Regions from separate parts of the Homo sapiens genome. Here all the other regions are linked to region 4. Evidence: promoter capture Hi-C in 16 types of primary human blood cells and fetal thymus (Javierre and others, 2016). All regions are on one chromosome and are shown on one strand. Each heading gives the region's core, a stretch centred on a gene start or on the middle of the fragment in contact. The rest is flanking DNA. Distances are from core to core; before and after follow the strand shown.

Region 1 (4,941 bases), core at 1,963-4,462, 520 kb before region 4:
TACTGGGAGGCTGAGACAGGATAACTCGAGCCCAGGAGGTAGAGGCTGCAGTGAGCTGTGATTGCGCCACTGCACTCCTGCCTGGGAGACAGAGAGAGACCCTGTCTCAAAAAAAAAGAGGCTCTGCTCATCTCACACTGACTCCTGCCACATACCTCACCAAGCCCTGGGCACGCATCTGACCTCTGACCTCAGGGAGGCCATGCTTAGTGCTTAGTGTGAACCCGCTTCTCAGAGGAGATTGAGGCTCAGAGAGGCCATGTCACCTGCTCAAGGTCACAGAGGTACTGAACAGTGCAGCTGGGATTCCAAGCCAAGTCTGTTCCCAGAGCCCAGGTCAAACCACCACACTCACAAGACCAACATCAGGGCTGCCTTCAGGACTTTCAGAATTCTCTCCATTTCCTGAAACCAACTCATCCTAGAACTCTCAAGCCAGGAGCTAGCAGCCCCTTTTGCCGGGGCAGCCACCCTTCCCTCGATCAGCAGCCAGGCCCAGGGAACGCAGGGTGAAATGGACGTCCTCACGCTGGGGTCTACCTATCAGGGAGGGGCCATGGCCCTCAGAAACAAGGTCAGCACCACGAACTTGGCAGCAGAGCCCCAGGAGGGACGCCTCCCCCTCCAGGAACAGAGTGGGGTTCAGGAAAGACCTGAACAGGGACATGGGGGCCAAGGAGGAGGGAAGGGAGGAGACAGCCCTGGGCAAGGCAAGGGGTGGTGGCGCTTGGGCCCATGGTGGGTACGGCAGGAGGACTGCAGGCACCCAGCCCATGCCACGTCCCATCCTGTCCCAGGGATGCCGGCCACAGCGCACCTTCTAACAATCCCACAGGGCAGGGATGTGCTGCACGTGGGCAGCATGCTGCGCTCAGAACTGTCACCATGGAGGCTCTGGGCCTGCAGGGGGTGCCTTCTCAGTCACAGGCACTTCCCTGCGCGTCGCCACGCTCTGCCTCCCTCCACTCAAGTGGGCTCCACTCCACGCCAGGCCTGGTGCACACAGGGGTGCATGAACTCTGTGGAAGGAGGGCCTATGACAGCACCCAGTCTGCCTGGTGTCACCATCCGGTTCTGGACACTCAACATGCAGGACTGAGGGAGAAAGCTGTTTCCATGTCAAACAACAGGGCCCGGGGTTAGGGAAAAGCCCACCACACCTGCGGAGCTCGGCCCGTTGGGGTGAGCCCGCTTCCCCTGGAGTCCACACCTTAGGGCCTTGCCGCTCTGCCCTGGAGAGTCACCACCTTGTTCCATCTCTCCCGCCTTCCTGAAGGAGCTGGCCATGCCAAATGCATGGGGCCTGGCTGCCACATTTGGGCAAATCCATCCCTCTGCCCCAATCATCCCTCTGACCCTCCCTGGAGCAGCGGCCAGGCATGTCCGTGGGGGGACATCTTGTGGACAGGCCTGGGTCTGCAGGCACCCTCAGCCTGGCTACGGCCAGGAACACTTCCAAGGATGGAGTGCACCGCGACCTGCGTGTGACGCAACCTGCATGTGACGTCATAGTCTTTGAGGACAGAGTGCTGTGTTCTGGGCCCAAACTTCCCCAACCAAAGACCTTAGAGGAACCCAATGCCTCCACCTGCCCGAAGGCCAGGGGCGTGGGGCAACTCTGATGACCTCCAGGTAAGCAAGGAGCACGTGCCAGCCTTGACCCAAGAGCTCTGTGTCGGCCCCTTTGCTGCACACCTGCAGGGGCTGCCTCTGGGAACAGCCGCCCAGCAGGCACTTGGACCTGTGGACAGTGGCTCCCTTTGAGAAGGAACCGCAACAAGCAGCCAGTCCTGGGCCCAGAGCCCACAGTCACTCCTGGAGGTGAGGGCTGTGGGAGGCAGGGTCACCCAGGTCCTGTGGTCTCTGGGAGAAGGACACAGGGTGTCGGGCAGCCAGGGGCCATCTGGGCAGGGGGCACACGCTGGACAGGCAGGGCTCATGGTTGGGGTTGCCCTGGGATGGGCTGAGGTGGTTCCCAGAAATGGAATCAAGGCAGGGGGAGCAGTGGAGACCCAGGGTGTGACAGACCCAAAGATACCGAGCTGAGAGTGATGTGGGGAAGGGCGGGGCTCAGCAGGGAAGTGACAGGGAGAGGAGGGGTGCCAGAGACCAGTGGCTGTGGGATGGGAGATGTGGCTGTGCAGGGGCCTCTGGGAACAGGTGTCAGTGACAGTGCCAGGAGGACCCCGGCCCACATGCTGGGTCTGAGGAGGTGGGCATGGACGGTGTGGCCCGGTTCAAAGAATGCGAAGAGATGCACAGGGCTGTCCATGTGTCCCTGTGTCCCGGGCACTGGTACCAGTGGATGGGGGTGGGGGCATGTCCAGAACCCACAGGGCTGGGGGTCTCAGGGGTAATAAGGGCTGAACCCTAAAACCCATTTCAGAGCACTGACAACGTGGAGATCCAGACCCCGTATTCAGGGGCTGGGAGAATTCAGGGGACAATGAACCCTATGTGTGGGGGGTGACAGGGCCTGAGGAAACCCTCAGCCAGCCCAGGAACCCCCAGTTCTGTATCCAGGACTGACAAGGTCCCAGGTGAACCCAACCCCTGTGTCCTGGGCTGATGAGGGCCCAGACTGACCCTGACCCCTGTGTCCTGGGTTGACAGGGGCTCAGGTCACCTGAACCTCTGTCCAGGGCTGACAAGGCCCCAGGTGAACCCAACCCCTTTGTCCTGGCCTCTGTCCAGGGCTGACAAGGCCCCAGGTCACCTGACCCCCTTGTCCTGGGCTGATGAGGCCCCAAGTAATCCTGACCCCTAGTCCTGGGCTGATCCGGCCCCCGTCCCCGTCCCTGTACCCCGCGTCCTGGGCTGACCTGGCCGGGCCCCCACTCACCTCTGGCGCTGCCCATCCAGGCCGAGGCCGGTGGGCACCTGCGTGGGGCTGAGCAGGCCCTGGGGCGCGGGGGTCCTGGCGGGCAGCCCGGTGGGGGGCTCCGGCGGCGGCGGCGCTGGCGGTTCGCGGGCCTCGGCGGGCGGCGGCGGGGGCTTCTCTCCGCCCGGGCCCAGGCTCGGGGGCCGCCCGTCCAGGGAGATGTTGTTGAGGAAGAAAAGCGCGGCCTGGCGGCGCCGCGAGTCCCCGCGCCTCCGCAGCGCCTGCGGCGGGGCCCGAGCGGCCGAGGTCGGCGCGGCGGGTGGCGGGGGCCCGGCGGGGCCGGGGGCCGGGCCCGGGGCTCCACCGGCCGCGGCCGCGGCCATCCTCAGACTGCGCCCGCCGCCGCGAAGCGCCCCACCCCCTGCCCGCGCGCCCGCGCGCCCGCCGCCCATTGGCCGCGGCGCGCCCACATGCAAATGTATCGCCGTCGCGCTCTCCCATTGGCCAGCGAGGTGCCGCGCTCAGGGCGCTCCCCTGGGTCCTAGAGGCGGTCGGACGCAGCAGCAGGGAGTCGGGAGCTGCGCGCCTCCCCGCCGGTTCGAGTCCCCGTCTTGGGACCTGCGGCCGCGGGGCTCTCGCTTTCTGTTCCCTTTGCTGTATGGCGGCCTTCGCGGATGGCCTCCATCGAGCGCACATTTTAAGGCTCCGGACCCAGGGCGGCGTGGGTGAGGCCCCAGCACACTTCCCTGTCCGGAGGTGTGTCTGGGCGGCGCTTCAGCGGGCGCAGGGCGGCCCCTGGAGGAGCCCCACCGCTTCCCGGAAGGGCCCGCGTGCCATCTGGCCTCCTTCATTGACAGAAGGGAACGAGGGTCTGAGTGGAGAAGGCACCTGCTTGGGATCAAAGCCCCAGGCAGAGTCCTGCACTTCCTGCAGTAGCAAAGTGACCTTGAGCCTGCCTTGTGCCCAGGCCTGTTTCCTCTCTGTGCCTGGGTGCCCCTGACTTCAGAACCTGTGAGCCCGTGGCACCGGGATGGTCAGGGCCTGCCTCTGGAGCCCGGGAGCCTGTCTGCAGTCTGGAGGGGAACCCGCTGTATCTTTGTGGAGGGACTCAGGACCTTGCACCCACCTCTGTGTCACCTGCCTGCTCTGTCCAGCTTTCTTTCATGGGTTTACGTATCTTTAAAGAGGGGACAATGATTTCAGCCTCAGGGTACTGTCAGGATGAAACTGGCTCAGTGAGGGGGTCGGGCTGTGGCCGGAGGCCAGGCACATGCAGTGGTCAGTCCGCGAATGCGCTGCAGTACCTCGCACCTGCCCGCATGCGCCCAGCCTCTCCTGTGCTGGGTGCTGGGGACCCGGTGGGACCGACAGGCACAGCGCTGGCCCTAGGAGCACCTGGTGTGTGGGGAGGCAGCATGATGGCCAACAAGGCAGTGGGCGAGTGGGCAAGACAGGGTCTTCATCACCACCCCTAGCATGGGCCCCTGCCCTTCAGGCCCCTACCCACCTCCCGCCTGCCTGCTCCCTCCTGTGGGCCTTCACGGGCCACCATTGGGGCTCACGCAGCATGCAGCACCTCCATTTCCTTTCCCTCCGCCCTTCCAAGTTGGCCTCCAAGGCCTCTGCCAGGCCTAGGGGAAGGTGGGCAGCTGTCCTGTCTAGGAGAACGCGGGGCTGGGTGGCATAGCAGAGGGGTGGCTGCGGATTCTGGATCCACAGAATGGGGTGCTGACTTGTGTGCCTGGGGGCTCCCGTGAGCGGGGAGTGAGTGTGTCCAGCGCTGTAGGGTGCTGAGGCTGGGGCAGGCACACAGTGGGCCCTCCATCCCTGCTGGCTATCACCAGGAGGAGGGGCCTGACAGGGGAGGGTGGGCCATACACCAGCAGCTTGCAGAGAATCTGGTGTCAGATGAGAACAGAAAGGGGCGAGTGAGGGTGGAGGGCAGGACGCAGGAGGCAGGAGGCAGCTGTCCGTGCTGGCTGCAGCGCCGGGTCCTGGGGATCGGCTGTGCAGTAGGGGGGCCCCTAGCCAGTTCTTCTTTGCTGGCGCTAAGCTAGACTTTGAGGGACAAGGAGGAATGCTGAGGAAGGAACGGGGTCTCTTCCTGGGTCTGGTGAACC
Region 2 (4,805 bases), core at 49-2,548, 750 kb before region 4:
GAAAGTGATGCCAGCAGTTCCTTTTCATTATTCTATCTTCTGTCATATGAATGTTGAGCAAAGCTTAGGCCAACATGAATTGTTTGTGAAGTGTGGTTGATGGTGCTTTGTTTTTTTCTGACTACTTCTATGGAAGGCCAGTGAAGAAGCAAAGGAAGACATGAAAATTGACGCTCATTCTTCTTCCTATTGTTCCCTGACATCCAGCAAATTGTGAATTTGAAAAATGATGGCCAGTTTTCAGAAGTGCTGACAAATTCATATTGGTATGCAAAAGCTCATCACCCATTAAGGTTTGTTGTTGAATCAACAGTACTCAGCATATTAAAACAGTACATCAGAACTCATGCCAACAGTCTTTATGATGGGATTAAGGTGGACAAGATCTCCTAAGATCTGTGAATGGGATTAAGGTGGACAAGATCTCCTAAGATCTGAAAAGAAACCTTAATACGCTCATATGGTTGGAGTGTTAAGTGAACCTCTGATTTTGTCAGGGTTTTTCTACGTGTAGGCGTGAATAGGGGGCACCCCTTCAAAACTGTACAAAGAAGACGACTGTTTTCCATTTCCATTTAAACATTTTTAGCCACTTCATTTCTATTTATTGAACAGGTCAAATTTGTCTTGTTATTTGTGAGTACAGTACATTTAAAAAACATCCTTATCGGTTATTTTTTTTTCAGTCGGAGTTTGACGTATAAATTGTTTATGCTTTTGGTGTAATCTCTTAATAAACTGGTTCTTCAAAAATCATCCTATAAAGTGAGTTTTCATGAAGTTAACGGGATTTTGGTGTGATGTGTTTTGCAAATACTTATTACCGAGACCAGGTAGATCGTCACCTCGGCTCCCGGGCAGAGTTCGCGTGCGTCCGCACCGGATTCCCCGCGGCGGCAAGGCGAAGCCAGGGTAAGGGCGGTGGGGACGGCGCCCCGGGGCTGCCCTGCGGTCCCCACTGCCTGCTCTGCGTTGCCCCGTAGCCTCCTCGGGCAACGGCGGTGTCCTCGTCAGACCCGGGAGGTTCCGCAAACGCCGGAGGGGTCAGAGAAGCTGGGGGACCTTGGGCACCGGGTGGAACGGGCGGGGCGGCTGTCCTTGTGCTCGGGCAGCGAGGGCGCCGGCGAGAAGCGCGGCTGCAGCTGAGCGCTCCGCATCCCTCCTGCCGTTGCTCCTGCTTCCGCTACCAGGGACAAGGTCGCCTCTCGGTCCGTCGGCGTGTTTTCTGCACCTGCGCACTGGGCAAGCCTTGGGCTTCCGGAGCCAAAAGGCCCCGGAAGTGGTCGGCCGCTTGCGACGCTCCGGAAGTGACGTGCTTTCCCGAGCCGGTGAGTGCGGGAGCGGGGAGCGGGGAGCGTGGGCCTGGGGGGTGGTCGCGGCCCGGGCGCAAGGAGGGGCCTCGGCTTGGGCCGCGGGGTACCGGGGCGCTGGGAGCGGGAGAGGCCCCGGCCTAGGAGCTGAGAGGCCTGGAGGGCTGCCGGGCTGCGAACCCCGGCGGGACCGAGCGCTGCGGCCCTGGAGTAGCGAGCGCTCGGGCGGTGGGGAGCGGCGCCTTGCTCCCCGGTCCTGCCCCACTCTCTCCGCAGAACCGCGTTTTGGGGTCAGAAGTCTTGTCAGCCACCCCGGTGGTGCTCTGTCACGGGATGGGTGCCGTGTGTGAGTTCCGAGTCAAGTTGTTAGGAATTTGCCTTGATCCAGCGCTCTAAGTATTAAACATTTTAAAGTGATTATTGGCAGTATACAGTTGCACAAAACAACATAAATATATACACATTTGGATGATAAAACAACAATAAAGTTTTGTATTGTAAACGCGCCTCAGGGAGACGCATTTCCAGATAATTCACTGTCCGTGGCTGGCTTCTGCCCAGTGAGAGCGGGTTACCCGTTCTATTCCCATTTACGTTCTCGTAGCTGTGGATACCGAGGAACGGCGTTCACACAGACCTGTAGGTGGGAATTAGAGGGGTTGTTGGGCAGTGTCACTAGAGAAATACCTTTCTTTTGTAAAGGGGAGGACCCATTATAAAAGGGGGACGGGAAAGGAGAATTCAAATTGTTTTAAACGCAGGTTCGTCCTCAGGCAGTTCTGTTTTAGCAGAGAGAACGTAGCGAAACTTGGGCAGAAAATGGATTCCTTTGAAATTATCCTGGCCTTAGTCCCTTGGGAAGTCTGTGTAGGCGAACCTCAGTGAGAAGATTCCTGCCGTAAAATGCAGGTGTCAGCAGCATGCCAGGGAGGCCAGAGGATACTATGTGACTTTGGGCAAGTGACTGAACCTCTGTGAGTCTCAGCCTCCACTGCTTTAGATGGGCATAAAAAATGTAAAGTCAAGAATCAGGTTTCCGCTGGGCGCGGTGGCTCACGCCTGTAATCCCAGAACTTTGGGAGGCCAAGGCGGGCAGATCACGAGGTCAGGAGTTAAAGACCAGCCTGGCCAACATGGTGAAACCCCATCTCTACTAAAAATACAAAAAAGTAGCCGGGCGTGGTGGCAGGCGCCTGTAATCCCAGCTACTGGGGAGGCTGAGGCAGGAGAATCGCTTGAACCTGGGAGGTGGAGGTTGCAGTGAGCCGAGACCGCACCACTCTGCTCCAGCCTAGGCAACAGAGCGAGACTCTGTCTCAAAAACATACCCAAAAAAAAAAAATCAGGTTTCATGCTCACAGGAGGATTTGAGGAGGGTTTATAAAGGGACCGTTTGCAAAGGCAGAGTGCAGGTTAATGACAGTTGGTCCTTTAGCCTGGAACTGGTGGCAGTGGAGTTTCTACTCCTGGACTCCAAAGGATCAGGGAAGGCAGCAGTGATCGGGACAGGGAGAAGAGTCACTGGGGAGGGCTTCTTGGACTGGAGGTGTGAGCCTCAGTCTGAGTGGGCAGGGAGGTCCATGTCCCGGCCTCCTGCTCCTGCCTCCAGTCTCTGGTAGAGGGCCAGGTCCCAGTAGGTTTTCCTATGGGGCAAGCTCAGGCTCCTGACACACAGCACAGGGCAGGGTGGAAAGCTGGTCTGGAAAAGCAAATGGAAGATAGCTCGGCATGCAGTATTACCCCTCGCAGGGTATTATCGTTAGGAATACATTTAAAAGTGGATATATTGGTTGGGTGTGGTGGCTCGCGCCTGTAATCCCAGCACTTTGGGGGGCCGAGGCAGGTGGATTTCCTGAAGTCGGGAGTTCAAGACCAGCCTGGCCAACACGGTGAAACCCCGTCTCTATTAAAAATACAAAAATGAGCTGGGTGTGGTGGTGGGTGCATGTAATCCCAGGTACTCGGGAGGCTGAGGCGAGTGGATCACTTGAACCCATGAGGCGGAGGTTACAGTGAGCCAAGATCCCACCATTGCTCTCCAACCTGGGCTACAAGAGTGAAACTCTGCCTCAAATAAAAAAGAAAAAAAATGGCCAGGGCGTGGTGGCTGATGCTTGTAATCCCAGCAATTTGGGAGGCTGAGGTGGGCGGATCACGAGATCAGGAGTTCAAGACCAGCCTGGCCAACATGGTGAAACCCTGTCTCTACTAAAAATACAAAAATTAGCTGGGCGTGGTGGCATGCAGCTGTAATCCCAGCTACTCGGGAGGTTGAGGCAGGAGAATCCCTTGAACCCGGGAGGCAGAGGTTGCAGTGAGCTGAGATCATGCCACTGCACTCCAGCCTGGGCGACAGAGCGAGACTGTCTCCAAAAAAAATAAAAATAAAAAATAAAAAATAAAATATATACACATACATATATATACATGTATATGTATGTACACAAATTAGCTGAGCGTGGTGATGGGTGCCTGTAATCCCAGCTTCTTGGAACGCTGAAGCACAAGAATTGCTTGAACCCAGGAGGCGAAGGTTGCAGTGAGGTGAGATCATGCTATTGCACTCCAGCCTGGGAGTGAGACAGAGTGAGACTCTTGTCTCAAAAAAAAACCTTTCTGTGATGAGGGCAGTGTTCTAATATGTGCTGTCCCATATGTACCCACTCGTGACATGTGGCTGTGTGCACTTAGATGTTACCTCAGGGACTGAGTTTTTACATTTCAGTTAATTTTAGCCAAATGGCCACATTTGGCCAGTGGGGACTGTGCTGGACAGGTCAAGGACAGCCTTGTTGGAAGGAAAATAAAGACACCAAAGAGCAGCGTGAAAACAGTGGGATTTGTTCATCCGGCAGGGGAGAGAGCACAGCACTCAGCGGGCCTCCAAAGAGAAATTGAAAGGGCAAAAAGGAGGAAGCAAATTAGGCAAGACTCCGAGTTCAGGTCTCTGGTTGGCTTTGCAACCTTCTCTGCGGTTGATCTGCAGGTTCCATGTCACCTGCATCAGGAAGCCTGGTTTCCAGAATATCCGGGCTGGATGGTGTAACGTTCCAGCAGGCTGAGCCGTGGCTATGCTTGTGTTGATGAGCCCGAGTTGTTTTTCCCCAACCTGTTTTTATGCACCACCCCTGAGCCTTCCCATCTGATAGCTCTGGGTTAAGTCTCTTCACCTGTCTGCCCAGTTTCCGCAACTTTAAAATGAGGATGATGAAGGACTTACTTCACAGAGTTTTATGAGGACTGAATGAGTTAATCCCTGAAAAATACTTAGAACAGTATTTTGCAAGTAGTGAGGTAGAGGTCTTGAAGGTTTACTGTGAAATTATTTTCAGGTACTTTTTGTATTTGGCACTACCATAAATGGGGTTTTTTCTTAATTTTAATTTACAGTTGTTTGCGGCTGGTATTTAAGAATACAACTGATTTTTTTATATTAGCCTGATAACATGCCATCTTGCTCAGTTCCCTTCCCTGGGACTTTTTTTTTTGTTTTTT
Region 3 (4,827 bases), core at 1,881-4,380, 710 kb before region 4:
CCCTGGGACCAACCTGAACCCTCACTCTCTGCTAGGCTGCCTGTTTACCACCCCCTACCAGCTGTGAGCTCCCTGGGGGTCCTGTCCTTGGCCCCTGCACCCTTGGGACCAGACTCAGCATCAGCCCCAGACCACGTGCACACACAGCTGTTTCTGACATGATGCATCCTGATCCTGCAAAGGCCCGAGCCATCTGCAGAGGTTGGGGTGGGAGGTCCAGCCCCACTCCTGCACAGGTGCTCGCACCCCTGGGAGCTGGAGGTGCAGGGGTGAAGCCACAAGTTGGCCCACTGCTGGGAGACATCCCCCGCCCCGCCACAGAACAAAGCATCCCAGATCGACATCAGGGCCTCTTGGGAAGAAGAGGGAGAGAGGGCAGGGCCCTCCTCAGGGCAGAGAGCAACCAGCTGGTGGGGGCAGGGGGCAGGAGGGCCAAGGGATCCCACTGAGGGGTCTCAGGTAGGACAGCTCGAGGAGGAGGACCTGAGAGCCCCTGCCACCCTCCCCCACCAGCCTGATGGCGTTTACCTTGGTGACGGTGGGAGCAATGTTCACAGCTATTGCTAATGAGAGGTGGGCAGAGCACCCCCATGCCAGGCTCTCTGCTCGGCCGCTTTACCCTTCGTGGCAGCTCTCCTTGTGCCCCATGCCTGGTGGCTCCAGGAAAGGAGGGAGAGACCACAGGGGGATGGGCTCAAGAGGAACCCAAAGCCATGCTCTTTGCACCCTGTCTCTTAGCCTTTCTAGGCTAGAACCAAACAACCTGCCCTCAGTCCTGCAGAGGCCCTCATAAAGCCCTGGGGACGTGAGCTGCCAAGGAGATGAGAAGGGGAAGGTGTGACTTCAGCAGCGGCTCCCTGGGCTGCATGGCCCCGATGCGGGAGCCTGGGTGGGGCAGGGTCCCTGACTCAGGTGGCCGCTCCCACAAAGGGAAATCTGCGGAGCCAGGATCTGCCGCCTGCCTTCCCGGGGCCTGTGTGTGTGTGCACGCTGCACACACGCATGTGGGAGGGATGTCACCCAGGGCGTCTGGCCCCAGATCCTCCCTTAACTCCGGGGACTGTGGACCTGCCCCAGGGCGGGGGCTGCAGCGACAGCCCTGCCTTCAGGACCATCTGCATCCAGATTCCCCGTCTCCTGCCTGGGCCAGGTCAGTCTGGCTGCAGCCATGGCCCCGAGTGGGCAGCTGGCCGTCGAGTGGCCCATGTGTCAGCAGCAAAGCCAGTGGGACCAAGCCCACTTCTGCCCACAACTCAGAAGTGGCCGTCCCCACCCAGGTGCCTCCCATGGGCGTCCCGACTGTCCCTGCGGAGTGAACAGGAGCTCCGCAGCCCAGGACTCACCGCTCGGGTGACCGACAGGAAGCGGTCGTAGCTGATGAGCACGATGTTGAAGGCAGAGGAGGTGCACAGCAGGTAGTCCACTACCAGCCACAGCTTGCAGAGGCCCCGGCCGAAGGTCCAGCGGCCTGTCAGCACGTAGGGTACATACAGTGGGATGCAGAAGGCGCCTGTGGGGAGTAGGGCCACAGTGGGACCATGCAGCCAGGGGCCAGGGGACAGACGGACCTAAGCGCAGACACCGGCGGGACCTGGGGTCACATGGTGGCTGCTTTTCTGGAACTAGCCATCCTCATCTTACCACCCCTCCACCTGGTGTCAGCCACAAACTCTGCCCTGCCGCCAGCCTTCACCCCCACATAGCTCCCAGCACTATCTGTGTCCCCTGGGCCTGGGGGCAGGAGGGATGATCCAGGCATGGGGAACTCTGGCCACCACAAGACCCCCGAGAGCCTGGAGTCGGGATTCCCTGGACTTCTGTCCAGCCCTCCCAGCCCTCAAAGGAGGAAAGAAGACAATTTCCTTCTCCCCTCCCCCGCTGGACTCCAGCCCCTACCCTGGCGCTGGACAACCCTCGGTCTCAGCTTAGACAAGGAGAAAGCCTTTCTCCTGGCTGAAAGGGCACTTGGTTGCAGCCGCCAGCCGCCAGCCGCTACTACTACTGCCAAGCGGGCTTGGAGCGTCTGGGAGACGCACCTCACAGCCCCAACAGGTGTCTGGCGCTCCAGCCCCCTCCGCGTGCCCCGCCCCCCAGCCGGCAGCAGAGCCTGGACACGTGAGAGCACGCTCCTCCGAGCGTCTCCCCCAACCCCCACCTTCCCCACCGTCCCTTCCCCCAACACAGCTCTAAAAATCCCCCTTCCATGTCCCCTCCCCCAGACCTTCTCTAAACCGCCCCACTGCGCCCTCCGCGCGTCCTAAGTCCGCAGCAGCCTTTGTTTGGCTACAGCGCAGGAGCCAGAGCTGCACCCGCTGCCTTTGCGCCTTGCGCCTCGCCCAGTGCCCGTGTCCCTTCCCGGGGACATCTCTCCCCAGCCCCTGTCCCGAGGCCTGAGTGGCAAGGAACTTCGCCTGTGCCCCCCACCCCATGGGCTCCGGACGCCCCCTTCCCAGGCCGGGTCCCCTGGTGGGGCGTGTGCCTGCGGGAGCCACCCAGGTCCGTGTTCCAGTCCCCGCTGGCCCGGCCACGCTGGGCGCCCCTGGGTCCCCAGCGGCCAGGGGCTGGGGATTTACCGACGAGGAAGTCGGAGATGGCGAGGTTGAGCAGGAAGAAGTTGTTCTGGGTGCGGAGGCTCGAGTCGGCCACGAAGGCGAGCATGACCAGCGCGTTGCCCAGCACCGTGGCCACGATGAGCAGCGCCATGAGCGCGGCCAGCACCGCGGTCCAGGCTGCCGAGAAGCCGCGCGCCCCGCCCGCCGCCGCCGCCTCGCCCGCCAGCGCCCCCGAAGCGTTCAGCGGCCCGTCGGGCGGCGCGCGCTCCATGGCCCCGCAGGCTCACGCGGCTCCGGGACGCGGGGCAGGGCGCCGGCCGAGAGCTGGGCGGCCGGGAGGGGCCCCGGCCCGGGAGCCTCGTCTTTGCGGGCCCTTGGCCGGGTCGGGTTCCCCTGGGGGCGCCCAGCGCATGGTCCGCGGGGCCGGGGCCGGGGCCAGAGCAGGCGGTGCCGAGGGGGCCGGGGCCGGATCCGAGCCCAGTGGGGCCGGCAGCGCGGCTGCTGCAGCGGGAGAGGAGCCGGAGCCTGAGCCGCTGCCGGTGCGACCGTGCAGCCGGAGCGCAACGCGCAGCCGAGTGCGCCCCGCGCCCAGCCCACCGCCCCGCGCGCCCCGCGCAGCGCCCCCGCCATTGGCTGCCGCCCTCGCCCCGCCCCCTCCCCGCCCCCGCCCCGCCCGGCGCCGGCAGCACCACGGACAGCGCCGCGTGCCCGCCAGGCTGCCTGGAGCCCAGCCCCTGCGCTCACAGCAGCTGGCTGGGAGCCCGGCCGGGGCTTGACCGGGTCTGGGGGCTCGCCTGCGGTCAGTCAGCCCGCGCACTCGGAGCCGGGGTCTGGGTTGCTCGGCCTTTCCCGTGCCCTCGGCCCTGGTGACCCCTGCCCGGTCATCATGGAGAGCCCTGGCGCCTGTGGGGACCCGGGGTGGGGGTGGGGGAAACGCCTGCACCCGCGCTCCGGGGACTTGCCCTGCGGGGCATTTCCTCGGTGCATGTTTTGGGAATGTGGGTCTCCGGGGCAAGGAACGTCTGGAGGAGAAGGGATGGGGAGGAGGGGGTCTTGGAAAGCCGGTGCCCAGACCAGGGGTCCGCTCCACCTCCCGTTTGCACGGACCCTGGGTGCCAGCCTCCGTGTGGACAGGGCCCAGTGCAGGGTCCAGGGTGACCCGCAAGGCGCAGGCAGATGTGGAGTTACATAAGGGAAGATGAGGCGCCGGGCGGACCCAGCCGGAGGGGAGCGCGTCTAGCCTGGGCTCCGGCGGCCTCAGGCTGAGGAGGGAGCAGCAAGCCGCTCGGAGCCCAGCCACGGACCCCTGTGGACAGAGGGGCAGTCGCCACTGCAGCGGACAGACGAGGTCACTGCGCTCAGGGCGCAGGTGGTGGCTGTGTTAGCGCCTGTGGGAGGGGACGGGGGAGGAGAGGAGAGGTGGCAGGAGGGAGCGCCCCCACCACCAGACACATGCGCTCAGATACACCGGGTCAAGGACAGATTCCTCCTGAAACACTGAGGGCAGACAGACAGACATGCCCACACTCAGATACACAGACACCCACAGGCCAGGGAAGCAGCCACCAGCGCCAGGCTGAGGACCCACCAAGAGCGAGACACACATCAGACAGCAGGCAGGGAGGGAGCCGCGCCCCAGGAGAAGGAAGCAGCAACTCCGCTCACAGGAGAAGGAAGCAGCCGAAGGCATCCCTGGTGCCTCAAAGAGGCCAGAGTGCGCGTGTCTGGGGGAGGGGCTGCAGAGGGGACCCCGGGCGCTGACATGCACCGTCACTCCCCTACTTATAGCAGCTTCCCCATACTGTGGGGACCTGCCCCTTCCCCTCGCCCCCCGTGGCGCTTCAGAAACTTTGGGGAAGGAGGAGCTGGGATTCCTCTGCTGCCACCTCAGGGCTGACTGCAGAAAGGAACCCCCAGACCCGTGGCCCCAGTCAGCCCACTATTTCACGGCTTCTAGGAGTCTGCTCTTGGGGGAGGGGTTCGGCTTCCCTCTCTGACTGCTTGGTTGTACTCATCCCACTCCACCTGCAAACCCTACTCCTCATACAGGCTCCCCCACGTTCCCTGCACCCCACCCCAACTCACCCAGTGTGGAGGGACTCTGCCTGGACCAGGGAAAAGTTTTCAAGGGGAAAAGTTCCATGGAGCTGGGCAGCAAGGGGCTGTGGGGCCATCAGAGCTGCCACCCATGCCTGCTGCAGCTCTTGACTCACTGTCCCCACCCAAACCAGAACTCCTTGTTGAGAGGACTCCTCCCCAGGCCCTTCTCCTCCCC
Region 4 (4,407 bases), core at 1,814-4,313:
TACCCTGACCCAAAATAAAAATACTATGACAAAAATACTCCAGGAGGCAGCCGGCTTTACTTCGTTTAAAGCCGGATTTCGCTTAGTCCCGTGAAAGCGAAGGAGCACCAGCGCTTCCTGATTCCGCACAGTTCTCTCGGCAGAGACGGCCCGTCCTCTCCAAGAACCGGAAGCCGGACAGCGTCAGGACGTTTTATTCTTCTCACCTGGGATTCAGAGAGGCAGCGGCCAAGGACAGGGCCCCCGCCGAGGCCACCGGGCAGCGTCCAGGTCTCGGCCTTTGGGAGGGGAGCAGCGGGGGAGGGGCACGGGGAGGGGCGAGGGCGGGGCGCGCCTGGGCCTCGGCGCTGGGCTCCTCCTCTGCCCGCTCCGGGGGACACCCACAGGATTCTTGCAGACCTCTGCCGAGGCAGGATGGAGGCCTGCAGGGATGCACCGCGGGCCCGCGACCCGGGCGGCCGGAACATAGTTCTTTCTGGCCGGAGATCGGCCCGGTCGTGAGTCGTGTCTGTGCCAGGCCCCCCACGCTGTGCTCCAGGGCCTCAGTGCCCGGCGCGCCGGGGGCTGTATCGCCAGCCACTTGGGGCAGGAAAAAGGAATCACAAAATACAACCCTCTCCTTTACCCAGGAGGAGAACGTGGATTCCCAGAAAAAAGAAAAAGTGTATATATATATATATATGCCTACTGTTTTCTTATTGCTAACAAAAACTTCAGCCACTGTTTTGTTTTTTTTTTTTGAGAAACTGATGAATTTTCTTTACTTTTACGTTGTATAAGGCCAGCTAACTTTAACAGTTAATTTTAGATAAATCAACTCACCAATGCTAAAAGGTGTCACAATCAAATCGTCCACTACTTCCCCTCAAAGCAAACACGAAAGCACTGCCTTTGGCTCCTTTGAAGAATACTAACCAGATCTGCCAGGCGCGGTGGTTCAAGCCTGTTCCCAGCACTTAGGTAGGCCGAGGTGGGTGGATCGCCTGAGGTCCTGAGGTTAGGAGTTCAAGACCAGCCTGACCAACATGGTGAAACCCCATCTCTACTAAAAATACAAAAATTAGCCGGGCGTGGTGGCAGGCGCCTGTAATCCCAGCTACTCGGGAGGCTAAGGTAGGAGAATCGCTTGAACCCGCTGCACTCCAGCCTGGGTGACAGCGAGACTCCGTCTCAAAGAAACAAACAAACAAAAAAAAAAAAAACACAGATCTTTGTCTACCAAAGGGCAAATGCTACGTTTGTGCATCACTGAGTAACAGCACTGCCAGAAAAGGCAACTTCACAGAATTCACCCACTCAATGAATTCCGCTGAATGCTGTTTTGAGACAACCAACACAGAGGGAGAGCATGGACGATAGTGGGTAACATAAGGGGAACCGGCAAGATGGAAAAGGGCCAGGAAACAAAAGAATTCAAGGAAAAACAGAAACAGAAGTTAAACTTTGTGTTCCAACCCCAAAGACCTCTAGAAAGCTGTGGGATGTGATGGAGCTACACGTTCTATGCGGCATATGAGAATCATACCAATTTTCTGTCTTTTAGACAAAAGAATAAATGTGAAATAGGAAAAAGGGAGGGAAATGAGATGGGAGGAGGGCATCACCCCCTTTAATGCTGTACCAAATTACTATACAAACTGAATTGTTGTAATTAGAATTATGGACAGTGTCTTATCATTTGTATGTTACCAGAAACCTGTGCTATGACTTTTAACTAGAAAAACAACAAGGGATGATGGATCTTTCTTTGGTCACATTAGCCTCTGTAAGTTACTCAAGACAGCTGCAATGAACTGACAACAATATCCACAAACAAGGCAAAAGGAACTTCTCATGGCAGGGAACTGAATCTGGATGTTATTCTCAGTTCTGTCATTTTCCAGATACCTTTAGAAAGAATGAGCTGCAGTTTGTGTTGTTGTTTTCCTTGAGACAAGGTCTCACCCTGTTGCCAGGCTGGAGTGCAGTAGTGTGATCTTGGCTGTCTGCAACCTCTGCCTCCCAGGCTCAAGCAACCCTCCTGCCTCACCCTCCCGAGTAGCTGGGACTACAGGTGCATGCCACCACAACTGGCTAGTTTTTGTATTTTTTGTAGAGATGGGGTTTCACTATGTTGCCCAGGCTGGTCTCGAACTCCAGGGATCCACTCGCCTCTGCCTCCCAAAGTGCTGGGATTCCGAAGGCATGAGCCACAGTGCCTGGCCTAAGCTGCAGTATTTCTATATCTTCTGCTAAGGAGTGAACACATTAATACAGAACCATGCTCATCACTCCTTCCTCTGAGAATGTTTCATGTTTCTCTAAGGTGTCTAAGTTTTCTCTTTGAGGTCAGTGAAAAGTAAATAAAAACAACTTTGGAATAAATCAATATTTTAGTTAAGTATAGGGCAAAAAACTATTTCTTTTCTGACTGGTTTTATCTCAACCATCTTTAAAGGAACACAGCAAACAAGCCAAAAAAACGCTTGGACAGATTCTGACAGAATAAGAGTAAAGTGGTTGTACCCAAATAGGACATTTACCCTTACAGGCTCTTCACACCACGGAATAGAGACCCGCGAAAAAGGGGAAACGAACCCATAGACGACTGAATTCCTGCACCTGCTGGCGAGCACCAGGAGGAAGGTGCAGGGATGTCCATGAGGTCAGAGACAGCCATCAGTTCACACTGCATTCCAGACGCAATGGGCCCCGGCCCCATTCTTGGGCCTTCTACCTAACCTCAATGCCTTGGGAGTATGGGACCTTAGGGGTAAGGATAGGGCTACAATTGTGCAGGCTACAATTAAAGATTTTTTTCTTAAATGAAAACACTTTAAGAAGTGAAAGAGACTCCAGCAACCTTCCAGAATTTGTCCAGATATGAATAACTATATAAATTAATTCCTGCTCTTGCTTAGTTCACAAAAACAAAATGGTAAAACTGAGAAAGAGTGTGTTTGGAGGAAATACCAACAACAACAACAAAGACTGAGGTATTAGCAGTTTCCAAAAGACACCCAAATGGGAACTGGAGGTTTTTTCCCTTCAGGGAGGTCTTGCTTTGTTGACCTGGCTGGTCTCAAACTCCTGGCCTCAAGGGATTCCCCTGTCTCAGCCTCCCCAAAGTGCTGGGATTGTAGGTGTGAGCCACCCTGCCTCTTTCATTCCAATAGGAAAGTATTTAAAGAGTAAATGTAGGGCCAGGCACGGTGGCTCACGCCTGTAATCCTGACACTTTGGGAGGCCCAGGAGAGAGGATCACTTGAGCCCAGGAGTTGAAGGCCAGCCTGGGAAACATAGGAACTCTTATTTCTACTTCTACCTGCCCATCAGACACGTGATCACAACAGCTGCATGCATACAAATAACTTAAGACACAGAGAGAACTATCCACATGTATGTGTGTATATTTACATATATTTTTTGTTAATTTTTATAAAAAAGAAAAGTCAGATCCCAAACCAGTAACTGTCTATCAAATCCTGACCAGCCAGGTTCAAACTACATAATCAAACTCAAATGAAATAGTACATAAACAATGCTTTGACCATGTACATTGCTACTCAAAATACTCTTTGGCCTTTCCCACTGGTCTGCAATGGCAGGACTGTATCACCTTCCCTCCTACCACATTTGTTTCAGGTAACAGTATGCTAGATACGGTTTGTCTCAACCTCAGCAGGAGTTAAAGGTTTTAAAAAAATAAAAATAAAAATCAAGAAAAGATTATTCTTGCTCTCACCCAAACAAACTTACAAAATATTCAGTGCTTTCTGATTTAGTGGTATAATCTAGAAAGGGAAATAAAATCAGGCAAAAAGAGGGAGGGGGAAGGTCACCTATATCAAACAATCACCAGTGAAGATTCTTTACAGGGTCTGGGTTCACCAGACACATGGTGTCAGAATATGTGCAGCAGGCCAGGCGCCATGGCTCATGCCTGTATTCCCAGCATTTTGGGAGGCCCAGGCAGGTGGATCACCTGAGGTCTGGAGTTCGAGACCAGCCTGACCAACATGAAGAAACCCCATCTCTACTAACAATACAAAATTAGCCGGGCGTGGTGGCGCATGTCTGTAATCCCAGTTACTCAGGAGGCTGAGGCAGGAGAATCGCTTAAACCGGTAGGCGGAGGTTGCAGTGAGCCAAGATCGTGCCATTGCACTCCAGCCTGGGCAACAAGAGTGAAATTCTGTCTCAAACAAAAAAACAACAACAAAAGAATATGTGCAGCAGACTAAATAGTAAAATTCTTCCTTACCTCTTTCCAACATCTCTAATTGTTTAAAATACTGTGAAAAGTGAAGTTCATGAAAATTGAGGTCTGAGTGTTTCCTACCTACTTCTGCTAACCATTCTAAGCATCAACAACTGATGGGTTTATCAATTATCCTGAAAAGTAAGGTGGTTTGATTTGCCCAATCT

The links. The method cuts DNA at HindIII sites, captures the fragments that hold promoters and counts their contacts. A CHiCAGO score of 5 or more calls a contact.
Region 1: the fragment with the promoter of CABLES2 here is called in contact with a fragment that was not itself captured in region 4 in 1 of 17 cell types (neutrophils); the score reaches 8.4 in neutrophils.
Region 2: a contact is called between the fragment with the promoter of MTG2 here and a fragment that was not itself captured in region 4, in 2 of 17 cell types (monocytes and neutrophils). The highest score is 6.9, in monocytes.
Region 3: a contact is called between the fragment with the promoter of HRH3 here and a fragment that was not itself captured in region 4, in 1 of 17 cell types (neutrophils). The highest score is 8.5, in neutrophils.

Annotation. Positions count from the first base shown.
Region 1 is chr20:62,404,073-62,409,013 of GRCh38, forward strand. CABLES2 (Cdk5 and Abl enzyme substrate 2) reads right to left here and starts at 3,213. Exons shown (of 10, transcript NM_031215.3): 1 at 2,843-3,213. The coding sequence starts at 3,204. It overlaps LOC105372709 (a long non-coding RNA gene), which reads right to left and starts at 2,822. Exons shown (of 2, transcript XR_936967.3): 1 at 818-2,822. RefSeq lists a silencer at 3,130-3,379. The HindIII fragment of the contact is 20,791 bases long and covers 1-4,941 here.
Region 2 is chr20:62,181,730-62,186,534 of GRCh38, forward strand. MTG2 (mitochondrial ribosome associated GTPase 2) reads left to right here and starts at 1,299. Exons shown (of 7, transcript NM_015666.4): 1 at 1,299-1,328. SS18L1 (SS18L1 subunit of BAF chromatin remodeling complex) reads left to right here. Exons shown (of 11, transcript NM_198935.3): 11 at 1-785. RefSeq lists silencers at 928-1,117, 1,157-1,341, 1,348-1,517. The HindIII fragment of the contact is 5,602 bases long and covers 62-4,805 here.
Region 3 is chr20:62,217,148-62,221,974 of GRCh38, forward strand. It overlaps HRH3 (histamine receptor H3), which reads right to left and starts at 3,131. Exons shown (of 3, transcript NM_007232.3): 1 at 2,574-3,131; 2 at 1,344-1,510. The coding sequence starts at 2,823. RefSeq lists a silencer at 3,236-3,345. The HindIII fragment of the contact is 16,770 bases long and covers 1-4,827 here.
Region 4 is chr20:62,929,031-62,933,437 of GRCh38, forward strand. It overlaps a transcript of DIDO1 not described here. Among named protein-coding and RNA genes, the nearest start is that of DIDO1, 4.7 kb to the left of the region's middle. RefSeq lists an enhancer at 86-175 and a silencer at 306-355. The HindIII fragment of the contact is 6,579 bases long and covers 1-4,407 here.